Linked DNA regions of Homo sapiens: all the other regions are linked to region 1. The links are contacts of gene promoters, found by promoter capture Hi-C in blood cells and fetal thymus (Javierre and others, 2016). All regions are on one chromosome and are shown on one strand. The core of a region is centred on a gene start or on the middle of the fragment in contact, and the rest is flanking DNA. Distances in the headings are between cores, read along the strand shown.

Region 1 (2,914 bases), core at 95-2,594:
ATAGGAGAGAATCTCCCTTTATGAGCTGTGCACCTGAGGCAAATTGCACAGCCTCTCTGGGCTTCAATTTTTCACCTGTAGAATGAGGATGATAATCTCAGCTTATTAAAAGGATTGAAACAGAGTAAAATACTTGGCGTGTTCCTGTTGATCTTCTTCTGGTGTTTGAAAAGGCTCCTGGAACAGGTTTTGGGCTGGTGTTGCTCACCCTGATGTTCAGGGTAGGCCCTAGAACTTTGGGGGCCGGACCTGAGGCCCTCCACAGCCCCTGGGGTTGGAGAGCCCTGTTTGAGGGAAGGCACAGATAAAACCAGGGGGCCAACAGCTCTGCAGGGAGAAGCACTGACTTGAAGAGAAGGGGAGCAATGACAAGGCCGGCCTTCTCTGTTCCCTATCCTCTGTCCTCACAGGCTTGACCCCTGGCCTTTCTGAACCATTTGAAAGCTCTTTAAAAGGAGATAGGGAGGTACGCAGGAAGTGACTTGGGCAGCGAGGGGGGCAGAAATCACAAGGCCGTGTTTCCAGTTTGGCCACACTTAAAAGAGAAAGCAAGATTAGGCTGGGGATCTAAGGCTGAGGGGGGCACCGCCCCCCATCCTGGCCCTCCCTGCTCCCATTTGAAGGAAGAGTCCTACCAGGTGAAAAATGTCCTCCACACCCCACCCACTCCTGGCCACTGTTGCCTCTCAAACCACTGCTGGGAGATCTGGGGCACCCCCAGGTAGCCCTGGTCTAGTGCCAGAAGTGAAGGTGTTTATGGCTGGGCTCCCAACGCACAGGGCAGCCTGCAGCCACGGAGATCTCCAATTTCCTAAACTTGGACCTGCCCTAAGCTTTTCCTTATCCCCCCTGGCTCCCAGTCTAGCAGGTTCCCTGTGAAAGCCTGCTGCCCAGGTGATGGACACCTGAGGGTGTCATCCTGCCCTCCAGAACCCGCGAGCTGGGGGAGAAATGGAGGAGGAAAAGAAGACAACTTACTTGTTGAGATCGGAGCTTCCGAGTCCCACTGATGCTAACTTCTGGGGTGTCCCTTAGCGGCGGTGCAGGGGGGCTCAGGGCTTTTGAGGGGACTCCCCAGCCCCTGCCATGACCCCACGGAGGAGCTGTAGCTGGAACCTCTCCCTGTTGTGGGGTCCTGTGGGCAGAGGTACCTAAGCCATCCTGTCCCTTCACTCGCGGCCCCTTGGGTCACTCCCTTTCTCTAGCGAGAGCAGCTGGAACAATCTCTCTCTCTCTCTCTCTCTCTCTCTCTCTCTCTGTGTGTGTGTGTGTGTGTGTGTGTGTGTGTGTGTGTGTGTGTGTCCCCTCCTCCCTCTCCTCTCTCCCTCCGTCCCTGGTACAAATGAATCTCTGGGTAGTAACGCGACTGGAAGGGCCACCGGCGTTGGCGGCGGGGGGCGGGCTGGGGTGGGGCGGGGGCTCCATGTGATCCGGGACGCCGTCAGCTCGGCAGGACTGGGAGGGAAGAGGAAGGCGGAGAGAGAGCCCGGCAGGCATCCAGCCCTCCGCTCGCGTCCCCGCGGCCCCCTGCGCCCTCCCCCGGCTCCCCCTGCCCCCGGCTGCACCCCTGCTGCGGGGTGCCAGGGACGGAGACCCGCGCGCGCGCGTGTGAGCGTCCCATGCCTGTGTGTGAGCGCCGCGTGTCACGCGTGTCCGTGTGTGAGCGCCGCGTATTTAGTGGGTGCGGTGGAGCAGACAGAAAGAAGGGAGAAACTATTAGGGCAGAAATCTTGGCTCGGAGCCTCGGCGGGGCTGCTCAGTCGCTCCGCGGTGCGCTAAGCGGACGGTTGGCAGCATTTCGCCGTTTCCCGAGAGGGATGGAGCAGATGGGGGGATTCCTTTGGGAAGGCGGGGGAGCCACAGTCTGGGCGCTGCATCCCCCGCCCGACGGCTCTGATTCCCGCCGTGGAGTGAGGGTCCGGGGGCCTGATCCGCCAGCTGCAGGGGGAGTAGGTCCAGGGACAGGACCCAGGCTAGCTGTCCCCGGGCTCGCTGCTCACCCCGGACGATCTCTCCCCGGCGTGCGGCGGCGGCTGGGCGGCGATGGCTGGAAACGCGCCCTGCACGGACAGGAGGCGGGAGCAGCCCGGAGGGAACGGAGCTCAACCTTGCCCAGGCGTGGGCAGAGCCGGCGTCCTCCGCGCCACCTCCCGGCTCTCCCTTTTGGATTCCTACCTGCCTTGAGGACAGATGATGACCAGAGTGTGTTCTTTAATTCGTGGAAGCCGTAGGAAAGGCAGCTGCCAGGGCAGGCTGAAAGGGAGGGCTGCTGTCTGGGGAGGGCCGGCAGGTGCCTCTGAGGACCGGTCTGTTCGGGGTGGCCCTTCTCACCCGGTGGTGTTCCTTCTGGCCCCTCTCCGTTACCCAGCCTTTTGGGGTCAACACCCCCCCTGCCAGCCCCCTCTCTCAGGGCAGACACAGCTGGTCAAACGTGGGGTGCCCTAGCACCTAGCACAAGTGCTAGGTGAATGATGTCTACGACCAGAAAACTGGTTTATTACGTTGCAATGAGAAAAATGCTTGTCACTAATACTGGAGGGCACCAAGTCCATCCTCTCCTGTAAGGACAGTGACAGGGAAACTTAGTCTCTAACAGTGGCCTGGGGGTCCTCTTGCCTCGGAGACCAGCGTACACACAGCCCGTTGCCCAGGCACCCTCCCCTGGGACAGAGCACAGAGCGGTCCGGCCAGAGTGGGCCTCCTGATTGCCCCTCTTCTCTCTGTAGAGGGGGTGATTGTTAAATGTGGCTGCAACAGGCCCTAACAGGAAAGCTCTGTGTCCCCTTAGGGGACTCAGCTTGCCTAGGTGCTCACGCACTGCACCATATGTTGTTTGACCTCAGGGCTTAACACTATTGTGGAGAAAGTTCTTAATTCCCTAATTGCCTAGTTCTTGGGAGAGGCTTTGGCTGTG
Region 2 (3,150 bases), core at 635-3,134, 760 kb after region 1:
AAAAATAATTGAAGGCTATAGTTTTCATAAAGCTACACACAAATGTAGAATCTTCAAATGAGCCTTTCAGAAACAGTAGAATTAAAACAATTACAGAGACATGGCCACAGACCATTTATTTTAAAATATCTGGTCCTGTAACACTTTACCACAGTATGAAAAAGATTAATAATCTGAGTTTATACAACAATATTTTGGGAAAATGTAACACCACTCATAACACAGTCTCATTAGAATGGGTTCTATACAATATGACAATAAATTAAAAAAAAAATTATCGAACTCCTCTATGTGCCCAGTGCTGTGCCAGGTGTCATGAGAAATAGGAAAAAAAAAGTGCAACCCAGGCGTTCTTGTCCTTACCATGCCAACAATTTGATTTTTAACTATCCCCAAGTTTTATTTTATATTCCTAGCTGATGTTGATATCAAGGGACAAAGTCAAAATTCATTCTGGTGGGGAATTGACCGCTTCAGCCTTTTGTTAAGCTACCATTCCTTTTCTGTCAAAGGGTGTCAGCCTTTCTACGTGCAAGGGCCTGCCTGCCTAATTTGGACAGAGTGGGCCAGACTGCCCATGTCCTCCCAGCCCTTCCACTGGAAGTTGGATCCCAGCCTCACAATCATTCCTGGGAGGGGGAGGTGCAGCTCAAGCCAAATTAAGCCAGTGCTAGGAGTGACAAGTAAATGAGTGCAAAGCTGCTCCAGCTCTGTCTGCCCTTTCAGAAAGTAATCAAGTCAAATTATCTATGAGAAGAAGTGAAGTTGAGGGGGCCTGCAAATGAAAACCAGACTCAGGCAGCGGCTGACTTGAGAAAGCCCAGGAGCTCTATTAAAGACAGAGAGAGGGAGAGAGAGAGAGAGAAGAGAGAGAGACATTTTTTTCACTACCCCCAGACTGTTTACTTTTAAATATTTTGCTTTCTCCCTTGCTCATGTCTACCCCTTTGTTTATTTTTATTTGTTTCCTTTTCTGGATCTTCTAAAACTAGGCTGAGGACTCCAAGGGCAGGCAGAAGAGCCCATATCTGTGTGGGAACGGGGAAAGAATAAGGGAGCCTAGAGTGGGGCTCTGGCACAACTGTGCCTGGGTTCTGGGGTGCCTTTCCAGTGGGAATGACAGGTGGTGGTCAGAACTGGCTTGGGTCTAAATCTTCTGAGTGCAGCTTTTGGTCCAAACTGCAGGTCATTGGTGAGCCCTGTAAAATGCATTTGGATCCTTTAGGCCACTGATTCTTCTCAGGCAATTTTACTCTCGAGGGGACATGTGGCTATCTCTTGAGACATTTTTGGTTTTTGGTTGTCACATCATTAAAAAGTGAGATTTGATACTGACATCTATTGAGTAGAGACCAGGCATGCCCCTAAACATCATCCTATAATGTACAGGACAGCTTCCCATGAAATAGAATTATCTGGTTCAAAATGCCCCTAGGGCCCAGAATGAGAAACCTGCTTGAATAAGTATTAAATGACAAATGGTCTGGAAATGAAGAAATGAGGGCTGGAGCACCTCCTCCAGCTGCCCCTAATCCTAACGCCTTCAAATGAGGGCATCCCCTGTGCCCTCATTTGAAAATGGAGGCTGAAGTTGCACAAGAACTGGCCTCTCCAGTGATGATTTCTCCCCCTTGGAAATAGAGCAGTAGCTGTACAGTCACCTGGGCCCTCTCACAGGACTACACCTCCTGTTCTTCCATCTACCCCCGAGAACCATCACATTCTCTTTCCGACAGAGCCATCTCCAAGGAGCACTCGCCTTGACAAGACTACAGGCCCACATCACATCACTACTTCATCCTCCTCTTTCCAAACTTAAATGTGTGCCCAGGTGAAATCAGGAAGGGGGGGCTTTCAAGGGGAAAAGCAAGTATTTATAGTCTTTATTGGACTGTGTGGATCAAAAGGGAGAAACCCAATTACTTTGCCATAAGGCCGCGAACCACTTGGCAAATGAGTCTCTCAAGCCAAAACATTGCTAAGAGCCTGGGGATGGTCAACAGTTGTTCCTTTGGAGCAATATTGGATGAGGGAGTTGAGCAGTGGGAAGGTAGGAGGTAGCATGGTGACAGTGTCCCAGTAATGCCCTCTGGTGTCTGCGTCACTTTATCTCCTGACATTCACAGGCCCTTTCCTGGGCCCCACCTTTGAGGGGTGATCAGCCCCTCTGAAAGGTTTTCTCTGTGTTTGGCATGATTTTCAGGGTCAATTGGCTTCAGACTCTGTGTGCTCTTGCGAAGAGCTACCCACCATTTCTATTTCTAATAGAACAAATACGGTTTAGTTGGGCTAATTGTTTCTAAGCTCCAGAATGATGAATAGAGGAAACTATTTAACTCTGTCTCTCTGGAGCCCACTGAGGGTTTGTTATGATTCAGAAGTGAACTTGGGAAAATAAATGATTGTGTGAGCCCAGTTCCTAACAGATCCATGGGCATTTTTGTCAACATCAAGCAAGTTCCGTGATCAAGTGGTCACAGAGCTCTCCCTAAGAGAAGCAATGGTCAATTATCTGTACTGGATCTGGTGGCTCCGGAAAAGGGACCTCTAAGCCTCCTGTCCTCAGACTAACCTGGAAGGCACAGTGTCTTATGCCAGACTTTATCAGACAACAACAGGAGCAAGAAAACACAGCTTCAATTTATAAAAAGATAATAAAAGATAATATTTAGATACAAATTCTTATCATCTGTCTTCTGCTTTTTTCCACTTCAGTTCTCTCTGTTTCTTTCTCTCTCTCTCTGTCTCTCACTACAAAAGCCCCAGTTCAAGGGGATTTTACTTTGCTTTGGCAAAAATACCGTTTTACATTTCCAATAGGTTTAAATGCCTGTAAAGAGGCTCAGAGGGTGGCTTGATCACTGACAGCCTCAGACTAAATGATTTTTTGGACGCAGTGAATGCAACCCTATCAGAAGCATGTGGAATTTTATTTTGCTTAAAATTCACACCACTTTAAATTAAAGGAAGAAGCATTAGATCAAAGGGATGCAAAATTTTGTTCAGCCTCAAGAAACCATGGGCAAATTGTTCACCTCACTTGGTTTCAGTTTTTAAAGTACGGAGGATACACTAGATAATCTTGTATGCCCTTCGGACACTGACATTTTGTGGATTTTTGAGCCAGAATTCATCCTGCTCATATACTCT
Region 3 (2,869 bases), core at 240-2,739, 720 kb after region 1:
AGTCTTTAAGATAGGGATCTTACTGATTTGTTTTGGTCTTCAAGCTTAGTATATAATACATAATAGGACTTTCATAAGTGTGTGATGAATGAATAAATGAACAATTCTAAAGGATAATGACAATAACACTGGACTGTCATTGGTAAACTTGAGTTCTAGACCCACCTGTCACTTCCACCTTGAGGTCTCAGACAATTTAACCTTATTAGTCCCAGATTGCTAGCATGCACAATGAGTACTTCAGATTTGGTAACTGCCGAAGTCTTTTCTGTTGTCCGATCCGTGAAGTTGCGGCTCTTGAGTAAAGCTCATCAAGGCAGACTTTCTGAGAAATTCCCAATGCAACAGGTTTCAAGTAATTAACCAGGAAAGACTCTTCCAGAAGTGGTAGCTCAGCACATACTGAGAGTAAATACCATGTTAGTGATGAAGAGATTGGAATTTCTGCAAAGAATTGATTCTGATCTTGAGCCTCTTACTAGTTTGGAGAGATCAAAATATTGGACACATTGCCTATTGTTATTTACTTGAGATTAGTTAATGGAAATCAGAGAATTTAGGGGCACATAATGCTGCCACATGAATAACTGACTTGATTCTTTTATAAACCATTCAGATTGAATTCCATGAAAAGCAAATTCCTACCTACTTTTCCAAGGATTGAATCCAGAGTGTTTTCTTAGACGGTGTAACCGGGGTGCACGGGGCAGTGAGCTAAGGTGCAATCTTCCGTCTGTGTTGTGCTTTACACTTGTTCTCACTATGCTTCAGTTTAAAAGGGACCTGAAATCCAGGAAACAGAAGACTGTGGTCCCCTGAGTATCCAGCTTTCCACTCAGTATCTCTTCGTATCTAATTGGCATGCCAAAGTTTACATGGCATCAACAAAACCCTTGGTTGCCCCACATATCCAGAATTTACCTCCACAAGTATTTGCTATTTAAGTAAATGCCATCATTATCCACTCAATTTCTTAGAACAAAAATTTACAAGTCATTCTGGATTCCTTGATTTCCCTCAATTCCCATTATCCAATCATCAGTCTGCTATTCCATTTCCATTAAAATGTATTCTGAAACCAACTACTTTTTACTCTCTCTACCGCAACCACCCTTTCCCCAGATACTGTGATCTTTTAGCTAATGTTATCACCTCTGCAGTAGCTTTTCTGCCTCCACATTTGCTCCCTTACATAGGATCTGTTCTACACGCAGCAGCCAGAGAAATCATTCTAAACTACAAATCAGATCCTCCTATGCCCATTTAAAAGTCTCCAGTGGCTTCTAAGTATGTTTTGAACCTGACTCTTCCCATGGCCTGGTCATTCTAACATTATCTGGCTTTGCCAATGCACCCAATTCATCTCTCTCTCTTCCTTCTTGTTTCTCTGGTTTACTTAGTTTTATCCATGGTCTTTTGTGATGTCCCCCCATTTTTTTTTCAGAAATGTCATCTTGCTCTGTCACCCGGAACACAGTGACGTTTCTTAAAAAAAAAAAGACATCACAAAAGGATGGAGTGCAGTGCTATGGTCATAACTCACTGCATCCTCAAGCTCCTGGGCTCACACAATCCTCCTGCCTCAGCCTCTGGTGTAGCTGGGACACAGGTGCATGCTACTCACCTGTCCTGATGTCTTCAACATACCAAAGAAATTTCTCATCTCATTACATTTGTACTTATGGTTCCTTCTGTGTCAAATGCTCCTCTTACATAGCTGGCTTCTCATCATTTAGGTTTCACCTTCATGAGGCTCCTCCTCATGAAGAGCTTCTCTGATGCTCCTCCTCATGAAGAGCTGCTCTGATGCTCTCTAAAACAACTGGTCCTGTTACAGTCAATGTCTGTCAAAATCACCCCGTTTCATCTTCTTCATAACACTTATCAGTACCTTAATGATCTTATTTCTTGGTTTATATATTTATATATTGTCTGGCTCTTTCCACTATAATGCAATCTCTTTGAAGATGGAGATTCTGCCTTTCTTATCAAATGTTGTGTTCCACACTTTTAGAACATGTTTATCATGTCTCAAGTCATATAATAATATACATTACTAAATATTTGTTAATTAACTGACTAACCAAGTTTTCCTATTGTTATATATGAGCAATAAAGAAATAGAAATAAAACAGCTAATTAATGAGGGTTAGATAGTCTCCAAAACAATATAGAACTATTTGGTTTAGAAAGGAAACTTGTAATAGATGAATAGAGACTAAATGTACACAAGACCCTTTCACATTGTCTCCTTTTTCTGTTTGACAAGGCTTTATAGAGATATTTACAAGAGTGAGAACATCCTAGATAGATGGATAGATTGATAGACAGACCTAGTAATTACCTAGCAGTAGCAGCCAGTATTAATATCAGTATCAGTGTCAGTATTTACTGATCCTGCTAATATCCTAGAGTGTCAGTATCCTTTTCTGATAATCAGTATCAAATTATGGATATTAGCTATTAATAATAATTATTATCGGTATCAGTGTCAACTATCAGTATCAATAATCAGTAATTACCCAACATCAGTATCAATATCAGCCAGGGTCCCAAAAGGAAATGGACAGCACATTAAAATGAAGTAATTTGCAGACAATTTAATAAAGAGATTATTTACAAGGATACGGGGGGTGGGTGGTTAGAAACAATAGGAGGGACTCTGATGCTAGAGATAGGAGGGATGATTCTCACTGCTACGCTGGAGAGTGACGAAGTATTTACCTGACAAAACACTTACACTTCTCCAGAGAGGAGTGTAGACAGAGGGCCTCCTGACAGCAGCTGCAGCCTTCCGCAGAAGATCACACTAACCCAGTAGGACCTGCCAGAAAGGGAATTAGGGAAATAATTGTCTCAACTTCTCTCT
Region 4 (2,825 bases), core at 242-2,741, 740 kb after region 1:
GATGCATCCTAAATGATTTGATCATTAAGTGACTAGGTATCTGCTTCTGTGGAATGTGCAATTTAACTCGAAGGACACTACAAACTCACCACCCCAAAAATATTCCTTCCTATGCTTCTTTCATCCTCTCCCCTTTCCTTGACTAGTTACCTAAGCTTCATGGGTCACCTATGCCTTAATCCCTGTGTCTTAAAGACATTGCAAAGGTCAGCCTGAGCTCCCTGATGGATGCTGGTAGGAGTGAGTTCAGAACCCAGCTGTATGTTCCCACCTCCCCTCCCTGTGCTCTAAAGACACTTCTGGATGAGAGAAGAGAATAGCAGGGTAAAATACCACCAGTCACAAGCTTGTTCTTATGGTTTTCAGTAGCCCCAATCACCCTCAGAGAACCAGAATCTCTGGTCATGGGGAAACTTTGCATTAAGCAGGGAATAAATTCTCACCCTCTGGAGTTAGTGGGATGATACGTGGTAAGATGAACTCAGTAGATGTTAACCTGATATTTAATCATGAGTTACAGCGAGTTAATATTAGTTTATCTGGTATATGACCAAGCTCATTATACACATGTTCTTATTCAATTCTCACAGCAACCTTATAAGACAGACATTAGGTTTCTATTTTCTAGAAGGGGGCACTAAGTTTCAGTGAGATGAAATAGTTAGCCAAAGGTCATAAAGCTGGGCTTCCTACTCACATCCGACCTGCTATACCATTGAGTGTTAGTGAATCCTGTTCAAAGCACAAGATAGCGGGGAATTGAGCAGGGAGCTATGGCATGGCGGGTACTGAAGCTAGAGCTATTTTTGTTAGAAAAACTGTTAACCAGGTTCAGGAAGCAAGGCCAGGAATGAAAAGGAGGGCACTGCTCAGAAGACCATGCTTCTGACTTCATACTTTGGCTTCAGGCCACCTTCCTCCACTGCAATAGTACCTGTGCAATGAAAAATCGAATACAACGAAATTTGTAAACATATTCTCACTAGCTAAAGATGTTGCTAACATGATGTAGCAGTAATGTATGTATATACACGTGGATGGGATTGTAAAATCTAGAAACATGTGCAAATGCTGGTTTGTGGCTTGTTCTTTTGAAAATTCTGTTTCTATTTCAACCTAAAAATTTTTTCATGTTGGCAAATATTTTTCTAAGGTATGATTTTTAGTGAGTGTATTTTATTATATTATATGCATGTGTTATATTTAACCAATTTCCTATTATAGGAGTTTAGTTTTTATCCATTTGTCCTTTTTATAAAACAAAGTTATGACAAAGATTATTTACACAAATATCAAATTCTACATTCGTACTTTTTATGTAAAATTCCTCTAAGTTGAATTTGTGGGTGTTATGTATGCATATTTTTAAGGTTTTTTGATACCTGTTATTAAATTGCTCTGTAGAAAGTTTGTTGTTGTTGTTAAAGCAGTTTCCCACCTGTGTTGTTAGAGGGTGCCTATTGTTGCCAACCTTGAAAACACTGGATATTCACACTTTTAAATATCAATTGTGTAGGTAAAAATGGTGCTTCATTAGAATTTTTTAAATCAGCATCACATTCTTTGAGATAATTAAAAAACAAATTTAACCACATAGGCTTTCTCTATTAGTCATAGGTTTATCAACCCCATTGTAATGACGAATCTTTGTTAAATATAATTTAGACACGGTAACCACTGAGCCACACTTTCCCTTTATGCTAACTTCTATCTTACCTCCTTGATTAACTCTGGACTTTCTGACTTAGAACTTGTAGAGTGTCTGTGTGTGTGTGTGTGTGTGTGTGTGTGTGTATGTGTGTGTGTGTCTTTGCAGCGGTGGGGTGTCACTTCCCCAAACCCTTCATGTTTTGGAATTGAAGAAAAGAATATTTTCTGCTTAGGAAAAGCAGCATTTCTGTTTGGGTCCTCATTCCTCTACAACCTCCCACCCCCTTGTTAGCCACCTAATTTGCCAATTAACCCAGGCATTCCTGATTCTGGGGGTAAAAGGCGAAACAGAGAGCCATGCAGACAATATATAATACCCCCATGAGGGCATCAGAATTTGACAGCCTTCAATAGGTTAATTTTTCAAAGTGGTAAGCTGATATTTCTGTATAAAATGCACATCTGCAGGGTAAACGGTATTAAGTGTTGGTGAATTATGGTCCCAGCCTAGGGGTCACTTGAGCCTCAGTGCTACAAGTACCTTAATGCTTTTTTGAATGAAGGCTCCACTAATTGTTTCCATATGATTCTCCCCTTGTCCCTCCTCCCAGCCTCCCTCACTGTCCCCACCCCTTCCCCACTTGCGCTTTGGCACACACAGGAATAATGAGCTATGAAATTGTACCATATTGATTGGGGACTGATCTTACAATAGAAACTGCCATTTTCCCCTGGATTTGCTTTGACTCTTGAAGTTCAGACACCTTTGGGGTCAAGTCTCAGAAGCCCTAAGCCTTCCCCCTCTGCTCCCTACTCCCTCATTCTTTTAAACCACTGGGAGCGAGCACATAGACTATGAAGAAGCAGGCAGACCATTAATTAGCTTGACTGTTATGCTGTCTGGTGGAAGGGGGATCTGAGGGCCTTTTAAAGGGTGTGTTGGCATGTTGATGGGAAGGAAGGAGGGGAGAAGAGTTACAAGCTTTCCCAAAATATGCCCCTGGAAGGATCCCCTGTGTGAGGCAAGGCAAGCCAGTCCAGAAATGAGCCTTCTGAGGTTTGTCTGCTTCCCACCCAAAGACCCAGAGTAGAACTGAGAGACAACACAGGTGGGCTTCCTGGATGGAGATTAAAGTTAGTTAAACAATATTGTCCATTTGGCTAAAAGGGGATCA
Region 5 (3,014 bases), core at 96-2,595, 660 kb after region 1:
ATCTTCTAACGTCCATATATGGATTTTCATTAGAGACCTTGGAGCTAAAGAATGCAAGTCAGTGACAGCTGTTCTAGTATCTGAGAGAATTTGTGTTGATGGCCTCCTTTCTTCCTTCTCCTTGTTCTCTCACTTCTTCCAAATATGATGTGCTTGGGTGCCCTTACCATGGTAGCTGTTCTGCTGATAAATATGCTACTTCTTGTTTGTTGTTGTTGTTTTTTGAGACAGATTCTTGCTATTGTCGCCCAGGCCTGGAGTGCAGTGGCACGATCTCAGGTCACTGCAACCTCCGCCCCCTGGGTTTGGCCTCCCAAGTAGCTGGGATTACAGGCACCCGCCACCACACCCAGCTAATTTTTGTATTTCTAGTAGAGATGGGGTTTCACCATGTTGGCCAGGCTGGTCTCGAACTCCTGACCTCAGGTGATCCAGCTGCCTTGGCCTCCCAAATGGCTGGGATTACAAGCATGAGCCACCACACCCATCTCTATGCTATTTCTTTAAGATCCTTTTTAAATTCTCTAGGTTTGGAAACCCTGTAGCCCTCACTAAGCTCCTGAATTTAGGTATTTTCCCTTAATAAAAGAAAAAAAGTTAATAAATACTCACTTATCCATTACCAAAATGGAACAACTGTTAATATTTTTCCAGTTTTCTTTACACTTTTTTGAAGGCAAAGACGTAATAGGTAAAATTGAGACCCGTGTGATGTCCTTCCTAATTTGCATTCCCTTCCCTTCCAGAGCTAGCGATTAAGAAGTATTTGATGTGCATCCAGTTCTATATATGTACCCTTTAACTATAACATATGCACATATACAAAAATATATATAGTTTATACATATTTGCAAAGCTATATCATTCATTTGCATTATTTAAATACAGTACATGTAAAGTTTTCTAACTTGCTTTTTCATTCAATATTATATTTTCAAAGCAGATTCATGACAATACATACGTAGGTTATTCTTTTTAACCGCAGTATATTTTATTATGTGAACATATCACAATTTATCCATGTATCTAACTATGTAACTTTATTCACTACCACTTGACGTTTGCATTATCTCCCCTTTTTGCTACAACATTGTTGTATGGGACATCCTTGTATATAGTTATCTTTACTCTGTAAGAGTTCATAGATTTTCTCTAGGCCAAACACACACACAGGGAAGCACTCTCACCTTGGATGGCTGGGCTACAGAGTATAAACGTTTTGGGGTGATGCCACTGCTCTTTGTGATGATTCTATTCGCATACTCTTGCCAGTATTAAATGAGAGTTCCGATTTGCTCTCATTCTTGGCTAAACATTGATATTTTTGCCTGTCTGGTGGATTTTAAAGTGTGTCTTACTTCTTAAAAATGTTCCTGATCATTTTTATAGGTGAGCATGTTTTCACTTGCATTTAACATATGCAGTTTTCCATTTCAGTTTGTCATTTTCCATGAATGACACATGAAGATACTTTGCCCATTTTTCTATTACATTCTTTGATATTTTTGTGTTGAATATATTTATTTTCGTATTCTGAGTGTAGACTTATATGTGCTGAACATGTTTCCAGTCAGTGGCCTTTAATTTTGTTTTATATACCATTATTTATGCATAAATTTTAAGTCTAAATTGGTCGGGTTTATCAGTTTTTCTTTACGATTTTGTCTTTTTGTGTCTGCTTTGATAAATCTTTCCCTACTCTGAAATCTTAAATATGTGCACCTATATTTTCTCCTAATAGATTTAAAGATTTTTTAACATTTATATTTTATTTTATTAATAATATGAAATAAAAAATCATTTATGCATACTATATATTACATATAATATATGCAAAATACATATTATGTATAGGATAGACAGCTCTCCCAGTGCCACTTACTAAATACTTCATTCTTTTACTGTGCTAATTATATCTTCATCCATGTCCAATTTAGACTTTGTTCCCTCTATCAAGTTTTTATTTTAATGACTGTATTTTTCACTTTATGATTTGGGATTGGTTGGTTTTATCATCCAGCTGTGTTCAGTATCTACGTCTCTTGTTCCATAACACCATTTTTATTTCATGAATTTTCACCTCCAGTTTTTAAGGATCTTGAAGATTTTAATGTCAGTATTTTCAATACTGTCAGGAGTGAATTTTTGTCTGAAATGTTTTATTTTGTAGGCAATCTCTTCTGAGTCTTTTTCTTCGTGTACTTTGTAATTTCCATTTGCAAGCTCTTCTTGTGTAAGGAGATGTTTTTCCTCTGCCTGTCTGTACTTTTACTTCCCTGCTTTCCCCTGGGGCCCCTTTCCTATCCTCAGCAGGGCAGAACCATTCTTTCCATCATTGCCCATTCTGCCCTGTGACTGGGATGGCAGGAGCCAGGCCATGGGCCAGCAGACCAGCACTTGAGTGACACAGCTTTGTGTAAACTGTGGGCTCAGACTCCTCTCTTTACCACTGCGTCCTGTGCCAATGAACTTTGTTTTTGTCCTATACGGTGTGTGGGTTGTTTTGAACACCATGGTCCCTAAGAGTCAAATTTATTGCTTATGTATTTTAGTTATTTTCTGGCTGACGATGAGGTTTCTTTCATTTTGTAAAACTAGTGTGGTTTTTCTTTTCACTTGAAATATGATTTTGCAACATTACATATTCAGAGGATATGCACTGACCGGAAATTGGGTTCGGTGTGTTTTTCCCTTTTTTGACCACTGCCAAAAAACTGTCTTTCAAGAAGTAGAAACTACTCTGACTAATCCATCACAGTGAATGAAAGGATGAGTAGAGCGACAGCATCGCATTTCCAATTCTGGTACAGTGGTCTGGAACAGACCAGAGCAGTGTGTCCTCAGCTTGTTGTACAGAATGACCTAGAGATTCAGAGTTTTTTTTTTTTTTTTTTTTTTTTTTGAGACAGAGTCTCACTCTGTTGCCCAGGCTGGAGTGCAGTGGTGTGATCTCGACTCACTGTAACCTCTGCCTGCTGGGTTCAAGCGTTTCTCTTGTCTCAGCCTCCCGAGTA
Region 6 (2,957 bases), core at 23-2,522, 700 kb after region 1:
TGTCTATTTCAGGAGATCACAGATAACTGATCTTTCAACGTGACATAATCAATTATCACATTTGAACTGAGAAACAGAGTCCACATTTTTTAAACATATTGTAAAAGTATAAAGGCAAAATAAATTTACTCTGTGCTAAATTAGGCAACAGCATTGGCTGCCTGATAGGGGAGATGTGGGAGAACCAGCATCAGCTATCTGGGATGGAGTCAAGTGGAGAGTGGGGTCCAGGGCCAGGAACTGAAATGTGGGGAAAGTGGGACATAAGGGAGTCCTATTGACACCCCTCACTCTGACTTCAAGCCAAGAGGTGAGCATTGGCTCACCAAGAGCCAAGAGACTGAATCAGGAGATGGGTGTTTCACTTTGCCCAGGCTTCAATTGTTGGATGGCGTTGAGGTGAGCAAAGATTCAAGTGGGTCTTTACGGTGCCTTCACATCTTTAGGTGGCCACACTCTCCCTGCTGCTCTGTGGTCTAGATACTGGTTCTCCTGAGTGCCTGAAGCCCTCTCATCCAGGACTGGTTGTGAGCACTGCATACGCCCTTTGATGAGGGTCGGTGGTGAGAAGGAGGGGTTCCAAGGCTGTGTTCTCACCTCTTCTGTGCTAGTGAGAAAACCACAGCTCGCCTGTTCTCAGAAGCTCACATGGACAAACCCTGTACTGGAAGGGACTTTAATATGGTCATGATCCCTTAATATTGTAAGACAGAGAAAATCTTTCAGGGTGTGGTTTCCTGACATTCCCCATAACGAAGAGTCTACAAGCTGTGTGTGTGTGTGTGTGTGTGTGTGTGTGTGTGCACGCGTGCACACGCACGTGCATGCACGTGCGTGAGAGAATTGTAGGAAACAAACTTTAAACAAAAACATTTCTTGAGAAACATCTTGTGTAGACCTAAACGTGCGTTATGATCTTTTGCTCTAGGCCCCATGTAGAGCTGAAACATTGTCCTGAAACTTGACCCCCCTTGGCCTACTCCCCTCATTGAGAAGTGCCCTTTCTCCCCTCATTGAGAAGTGCCCTTTTCAAAAGGGAAGTAAAAGCTGTGAGTAGCACCTATTTTGTCAGAGAGGCACAGGATCAAGTTCTACTTTGGCCTGCATGCACACTTCATGCATACATCATAATCTGTTTCATTGATATCCCCAGCCAGTCATACAACACCTTCTGATCTCTAGGTTTGGAGCCATATAAATAAATAAGAAAATAACTTTTTTTTAAATAAAAAGATTTCTAGACTAAAAAGGTACTTACTGGTTTCTTTCTTTCTTGTCTCTTTAATTTTGTATATGTTCCAGATATTTTTCTTGTTGTTTGGAATAGAAGTTTTGGTGAATTTACTTTAACATTTTGTTATAGACTTTTGGCCTTGTGATACGAAGACAAGTTACTTCTTCTTGCCCACCAGCTAGACAATTAGCTAGTCAATCAACCAACAGATGCTTAATAAGATCCTACTATATGCAAAAGCATTCTGGTAGCTACAGTAAAGTTTAAAGCAGAGAAAAGTCAGTTCTGCCTCTATTTTATATATATCTATATAATGTGTATATATACACATATCCATATTTTATATTAACATATGAATATGTTAATATATATGCATGTTTTATATGCGTATACATGTATATGTATATTTGTATATGCACAAATATACATATACATGTATATGTATATTTATATATACATATGCATGTGTACATTGTATATATACATATACATTTGTATATATGTATTTATATGTATATATACACATATGCATACATGTATATATGTATATATGTATATGTACATATATGCATACTATATGTGTATATATACACATATGCATACTATATATGTATACATAATTACATATAAAAACATGCATAATTACATGCGTATATGTATATATAATTTTATATCACATATAATTAATAACTACTATATACGAGGCACTTTGCAGTGTCTCAATTGGAGATACATTTGTCATTTGGAAACATGGGCAGGGACAATGGAAATTGTAGAAGTCAAGCAAAGTGTCTCAGCCAAATATGTTTTCCATAATTCCTTGCAAGTCTGTTCCCAGGCCTTCGCTTTCTCTGTGTGCCAAAGTGACCCTGCTGGGAAAATGGACCATGGAGACAACTGGAATGACTTTCACAGTGGGACTCGGGTTTTACCCTTGTCCTTAATAGCATATAAAAGCCTAGGCTGAGTTCAAAGGCAGGGAACATCAATCTTCGATAACACACATTTTTTAGGGTAGTGTGAGGAGTCAGGAATGTGTGACATGATGTGCGGGGCTGGGATGTGAGGTGGCTGCTGCTGGAGACGTGCCTCACGTTACATAAGAAGCACTTGCTTTCTCCAGAGCTGGACGTTGAACCAGCCTTATGAATGCTGAATGAAGCTGCAGTCCACACTTCTGAGGGAAGGGTGAGGTTTTAGAACACTTCAGGACATCCTGGCTGGTGGAATTCAGGTATTTCTGAAAGCCTCACATCACAGAGCACAGTCAACAGGGCAGCTGAGTTTTGAAGCCAGGCATTCCAAGTTAGATTTCTTTCATCCACATTCCTAGAGACACAGCCAATTCTCCCTCTGTCGGGAAGAGCTGCCTCCTTGTCCTCTTCCTGCCATCCTGCCTGACTTGTCTCCATGCCCTTGACACCTCAGAGGTTACAGGGTTCCTTCTCTAGAATACGTGTTTGTTTGTTTTTCCCTGGCTCAAAGCTTAGGTAGAGGCCCATCCTGTGAACTCAGTGACCCGCCCCTTTACTGTGTAACAGCATTTTTACATGATCATTTTTGCTTGTCTGCCTCAGCCCCTGAATTTATTCTTTGGGTTGTGTCTCTAGTGCCTAACATGGTGCCTGGCAATAGCAGATGTGAAAAAATGCTCATTCACTCTCAGATGAATCAATGCCTGCAGTCTCCCAGAGCATCAGTCTATGCTAACATATGTGGCCTT
Region 7 (3,296 bases), core at 281-2,780, 790 kb after region 1:
TTGTGTTAAGTCTGCTTCAAAGGGAGCTTGACCTCACCAGTGAATCTAGAAATGATCTATCGTTAGAAATAGGGAGTCGCTACATTCACTAAGTACAATTTGCCTATCCCTCACACACATGAAGACTGTCCTCTCTATTCCCATTTTGCTCTAGTTTCTATCTTTGCTGTTTACTTCAAGGATCAAAGCCTACGGCTGGGATTTTGACAAAGTGCCCCTCTTATGGAGTGTTTTCTTTGCATATGGAGTGGTCTCTAACAGCTTTTTTTTTTTTTTTTTTTAGCCGTGCTTCAGGACTTGGTCCCTTCTCTCTGTCACTCTCTCCACTTATGCACAAGATACCATCCACTCTTTCCTCCCGAAAAAATTTCATCCCAAGTTAAAAGTATACTTTTTCCGTTCCCTTGGATAATTCCACCAGCACACAGGGTAATAGTTTCCATCTTAAACACAAAAAGATCCCCTCTTAATCCCTGTACAGCTTCACAACCTCTCACTTCCACCTCATTTCTCTTCCCACTTCACACCAAACAAACTTCAAATGATTTGTCCATAGTCATTGTCATCACCTTGAAATGCTTTCCCTTCCAACCCATCTGAATCAAGATTTTTTCCAACCACTGCATTGAAACCATTTTTGTCAAAGTCACGAAAGACATTCATCTCACTAAATCCAGTCAACCATTCTCTCTTCATCTTACTCAATTTTCATACAGCATTTGACATGAGACTACCCCATCCTCCAAGCACTTTCTTCATTTGACTTTAGAACAACCCACTCCCCGGTTTTTTCTCTTACCTGGTTGCTTATTTCTTCCAGTTCTTCTTTGCTGAATCCCCTTCTCTCTCTGACTTCTAAATGCTGGCATCCCCTGAGATCAGTCCTTACCCTGCTGTTCTTTAGCTACATTTTTGCTTTCACCCAGCAACCTTATTTTAAATATTAATTATCTATGTGGTGATGTCTCCCAGAAATATAGCTTTATCCCTAAACTCTTATAAATTCAAACTTGAAAATTTACTTGCCTACTTGACAGTTTTACTTGGCTGTCAAGTACATTAAACTCATGTAACAAAAACAAAACTTACAAAACTTTTATTTTTTTCTTTCTAAACTTGCTTCTTTCTCTATTGTTTCTAAATGAATAAGTATTATCATCATTCACCCAATGATTCAGGCCAAAAGCTTTCATTCTCTAAATCTAATCCTTCAGCAAGTTCTGTCAGTTCTGTCTTCAAAATGTATTCTGAATCCAGGACCTTCTCTGCACCTGCACAGCTGTATCTCTAGCCCAGCCTGCTGCAGCCTCTCACCTGGTCTCTGACCAGGCTACACCTATCTCACTCAGTCCTATCTGGTCTACCTGACACTGCTTTTGACTTCCCACAGACCCTTTTTCACACAGCAGACATAATTATCCTTTATAAATAAATATGATATCAAGTTTCCTGCATAACATTCTCCAATGACTTTTCTTTGTATCTTAAATACAAACTCCTGACTGAGGGCCTAGAAGATACTATGTGACCTGCCCCTCACCTATACGTCCAATCACTCTCTCTGTTTATTATGTTCTAGCTGTATTCGCTTGCTTGCTTCTTCTTGCGTGTCCCAAACCTATTCCCATTCCACAGCCTTTACACTTGCTGTTCCTTGCCTGGTATACTCAACCCAAATTGCCCGGTGACTAGATTCTCATCCTTCAGAATTCTCTCCAGATTCTTTCTTCCAACTTATTTAACTCTAGTTCCTCATGCTATGATTTTCTGTATTACCTTGCTTCGTACTGTAATTCATCTCTATCACCATCTGAAATTATATATAGTCAAACTATTTTTAATGGACTGTCATCTTCTTTAGAATATAAGCTTCAAGAGCATTATGCAACATGCAGAATTAAAATGATTTCTTCTCACAGGACTCCTGATAACTCTAAAGTGGTCATTTAAATCTTTAAGATGTGAGTCCCAAAGCCCTCTTGCTCTGGGGAGAACAGTTTCCTTCACCTTAGTGCTATTCAGATAGAAATTGGCCACGATATTAACCTCTGACTGTTATTTTTGAATAGCACAATGGAGTGAGATGAGCTGGGTCTAAACTCTCCCCAGGACAAATATTTTTCAACCCAATGAAAGATTTATATTTTTATTTATTTTGATGTGCAGTGAAATATCTTTCTCCCTTACCTTACTTCTTGAAAAAGAATGAAGCACTGTTGCTTTGAAAAGTTGACAGACTATTCTAATCAGTCATCCTCAGGTTTGGATTTGAAGGTAAATTGGTCAAGAGTAAAGGTCCAGAACATGTTTCCTGAAGCTACTATAAGTCAAACTCTAATCCTAACCACAGATAAATAAATGGTTTAAACCAAATAGCTCAGAGGTTAAATTGTACCCTGAAAAATATGCTTTGAGCTTCCAGGAGACTCAAAAAATATGAACCTTTTTCCAAGTTACTAAATCAAACACTTGGCCCACTGATTTTTAAAAAAGTAAAACCAGCATAAACTAAACTATATTACCCTTGTAATGGGACTGTGATAGGAAAAATTATAAGTATCTTCAAGAAAACTCTAGAACTTTAGATGCTACAGATAGTGCTGGTAAGCAAATAATACCTATTTCACAAGGCAAAAATCTTTCAAATTACATTCTATTAAAATTCATAATTTTGATTGCTCTGCTAAACTTTGCAGAGTTGGCTCTGGCTTAAATATTAAGAATTAGGAAAGGAGGTAACAGGAGAAGAAGCTAAAAGCCAAAGACATCCCGTTCTCATAATGTGTTGCTGGAAATGGCATTGCATTTAGTTTTACCTTGGGTTATATGGGGAAGTCCTTGTTATTACTGATCTCCACTTCATTTCAAATAGGGCAATTTTCAAATGGACTCTCTAAGTGTAGGTTTTCTGAAGTGATTCTTTTGTAACACTTTTATTTCTGGAGGCACTCTGCAAAACCTACAAAAAATTTTGAAAATTATTTCCTGCAAAAAATTTGAAAACAAAATCTATTTTACTTTTTTTCTTTTTGCCCTATAGCACAGATCCAACAACTAAAATACATTTCTGAAAACCAAATAATGATTAGGAAATAAGGAAAAATTGGAAGATAGGGCATATTGTCCACTATTATCCCCATACATTATCATGTTCCTGTCACGTAAGACACTTAATAATGTTTTGTTGAATAAAACATGAATACTTATACATATGCTCCCCAAGAATAAGTAACATAATTCTTAAAAAAGGCAGGGATAAGTCAGTAGTTAAGTCATTTTTACTTCCAGTTCTGTCA

What was found. Contacts are between HindIII fragments. The CHiCAGO score rates a contact against its expected background, and 5 or more counts as called.
Region 2: a contact is called between a fragment that was not itself captured here and the fragment with the promoter of KCNJ5 in region 1, in 1 of 17 cell types (activated CD4 T cells). The highest score is 5.4, in activated CD4 T cells.
Region 3: a fragment that was not itself captured here is called in contact with the fragment with the promoter of KCNJ5 in region 1 in 14 of 17 cell types (naive B cells, total B cells, naive CD8 T cells and 11 more); the score reaches 26.2 in naive B cells.
Region 4: a contact is called between a fragment that was not itself captured here and the fragment with the promoter of KCNJ5 in region 1, in 10 of 17 cell types (naive B cells, total B cells, total CD4 T cells and 7 more). The highest score is 14.3, in naive B cells.
Region 5: a contact is called between a fragment that was not itself captured here and the fragment with the promoter of KCNJ5 in region 1, in 1 of 17 cell types (neutrophils). The highest score is 6.3, in neutrophils.
Region 6: a fragment that was not itself captured here is called in contact with the fragment with the promoter of KCNJ5 in region 1 in 3 of 17 cell types (naive B cells, total B cells and total CD4 T cells); the score reaches 11.4 in naive B cells.
Region 7: a fragment that was not itself captured here is called in contact with the fragment with the promoter of KCNJ5 in region 1 in 9 of 17 cell types (activated CD4 T cells, non-activated CD4 T cells, naive CD4 T cells and 6 more); the score reaches 9.8 in activated CD4 T cells.

Annotation. Positions count from the first base shown.
Region 1 is chr11:128,889,786-128,892,699 of GRCh38, reverse strand. It overlaps KCNJ5 (potassium inwardly rectifying channel subfamily J member 5), which reads right to left and starts at 1,344. Exons shown (of 3, transcript NM_000890.5): 1 at 979-1,344. The HindIII fragment of the contact is 6,484 bases long and covers 836-2,914 here.
Region 2 is chr11:128,131,170-128,134,319 of GRCh38, reverse strand. All of the region lies in intron 2 of LINC02725 (long intergenic non-protein coding RNA 2725), which reads right to left. Among named protein-coding and RNA genes, the nearest start is that of LINC02725, 37 kb to the right of the region's middle. The HindIII fragment of the contact is 5,085 bases long and covers 1-3,150 here.
Region 3 is chr11:128,167,127-128,169,995 of GRCh38, reverse strand. It overlaps LINC02725 (long intergenic non-protein coding RNA 2725), which reads right to left. Exons shown (of 6, transcript NR_183639.1): 3 at 2,741-2,824; 4 at 650-783. Among named protein-coding and RNA genes, the nearest start is that of LINC02098, 40 kb to the left of the region's middle. The HindIII fragment of the contact is 2,885 bases long and covers 47-2,869 here.
Region 4 is chr11:128,148,441-128,151,265 of GRCh38, reverse strand. The region is part of intron 2 of LINC02725 (long intergenic non-protein coding RNA 2725); the gene reads right to left. Among named protein-coding and RNA genes, the nearest start is that of LINC02725, 54 kb to the right of the region's middle. The HindIII fragment of the contact is 2,286 bases long and covers 349-2,634 here.
Region 5 is chr11:128,228,868-128,231,881 of GRCh38, reverse strand. All of the region lies in intron 3 of LINC02098 (long intergenic non-protein coding RNA 2098), which reads right to left. Among named protein-coding and RNA genes, the nearest start is that of LINC02098, 22 kb to the right of the region's middle. The HindIII fragment of the contact is 8,968 bases long and covers 1-3,014 here.
Region 6 is chr11:128,188,095-128,191,051 of GRCh38, reverse strand. No RefSeq gene overlaps it. Among named protein-coding and RNA genes, the nearest start is that of LINC02098, 19 kb to the left of the region's middle. The HindIII fragment of the contact is 2,899 bases long and covers 1-2,721 here.
Region 7 is chr11:128,100,905-128,104,200 of GRCh38, reverse strand. LINC02725 (long intergenic non-protein coding RNA 2725) reads right to left here. Exons shown (of 6, transcript NR_183639.1): 2 at 2,817-2,959. Among named protein-coding and RNA genes, the nearest start is that of LINC02725, 6.8 kb to the right of the region's middle. The HindIII fragment of the contact is 683 bases long and covers 1,189-1,871 here.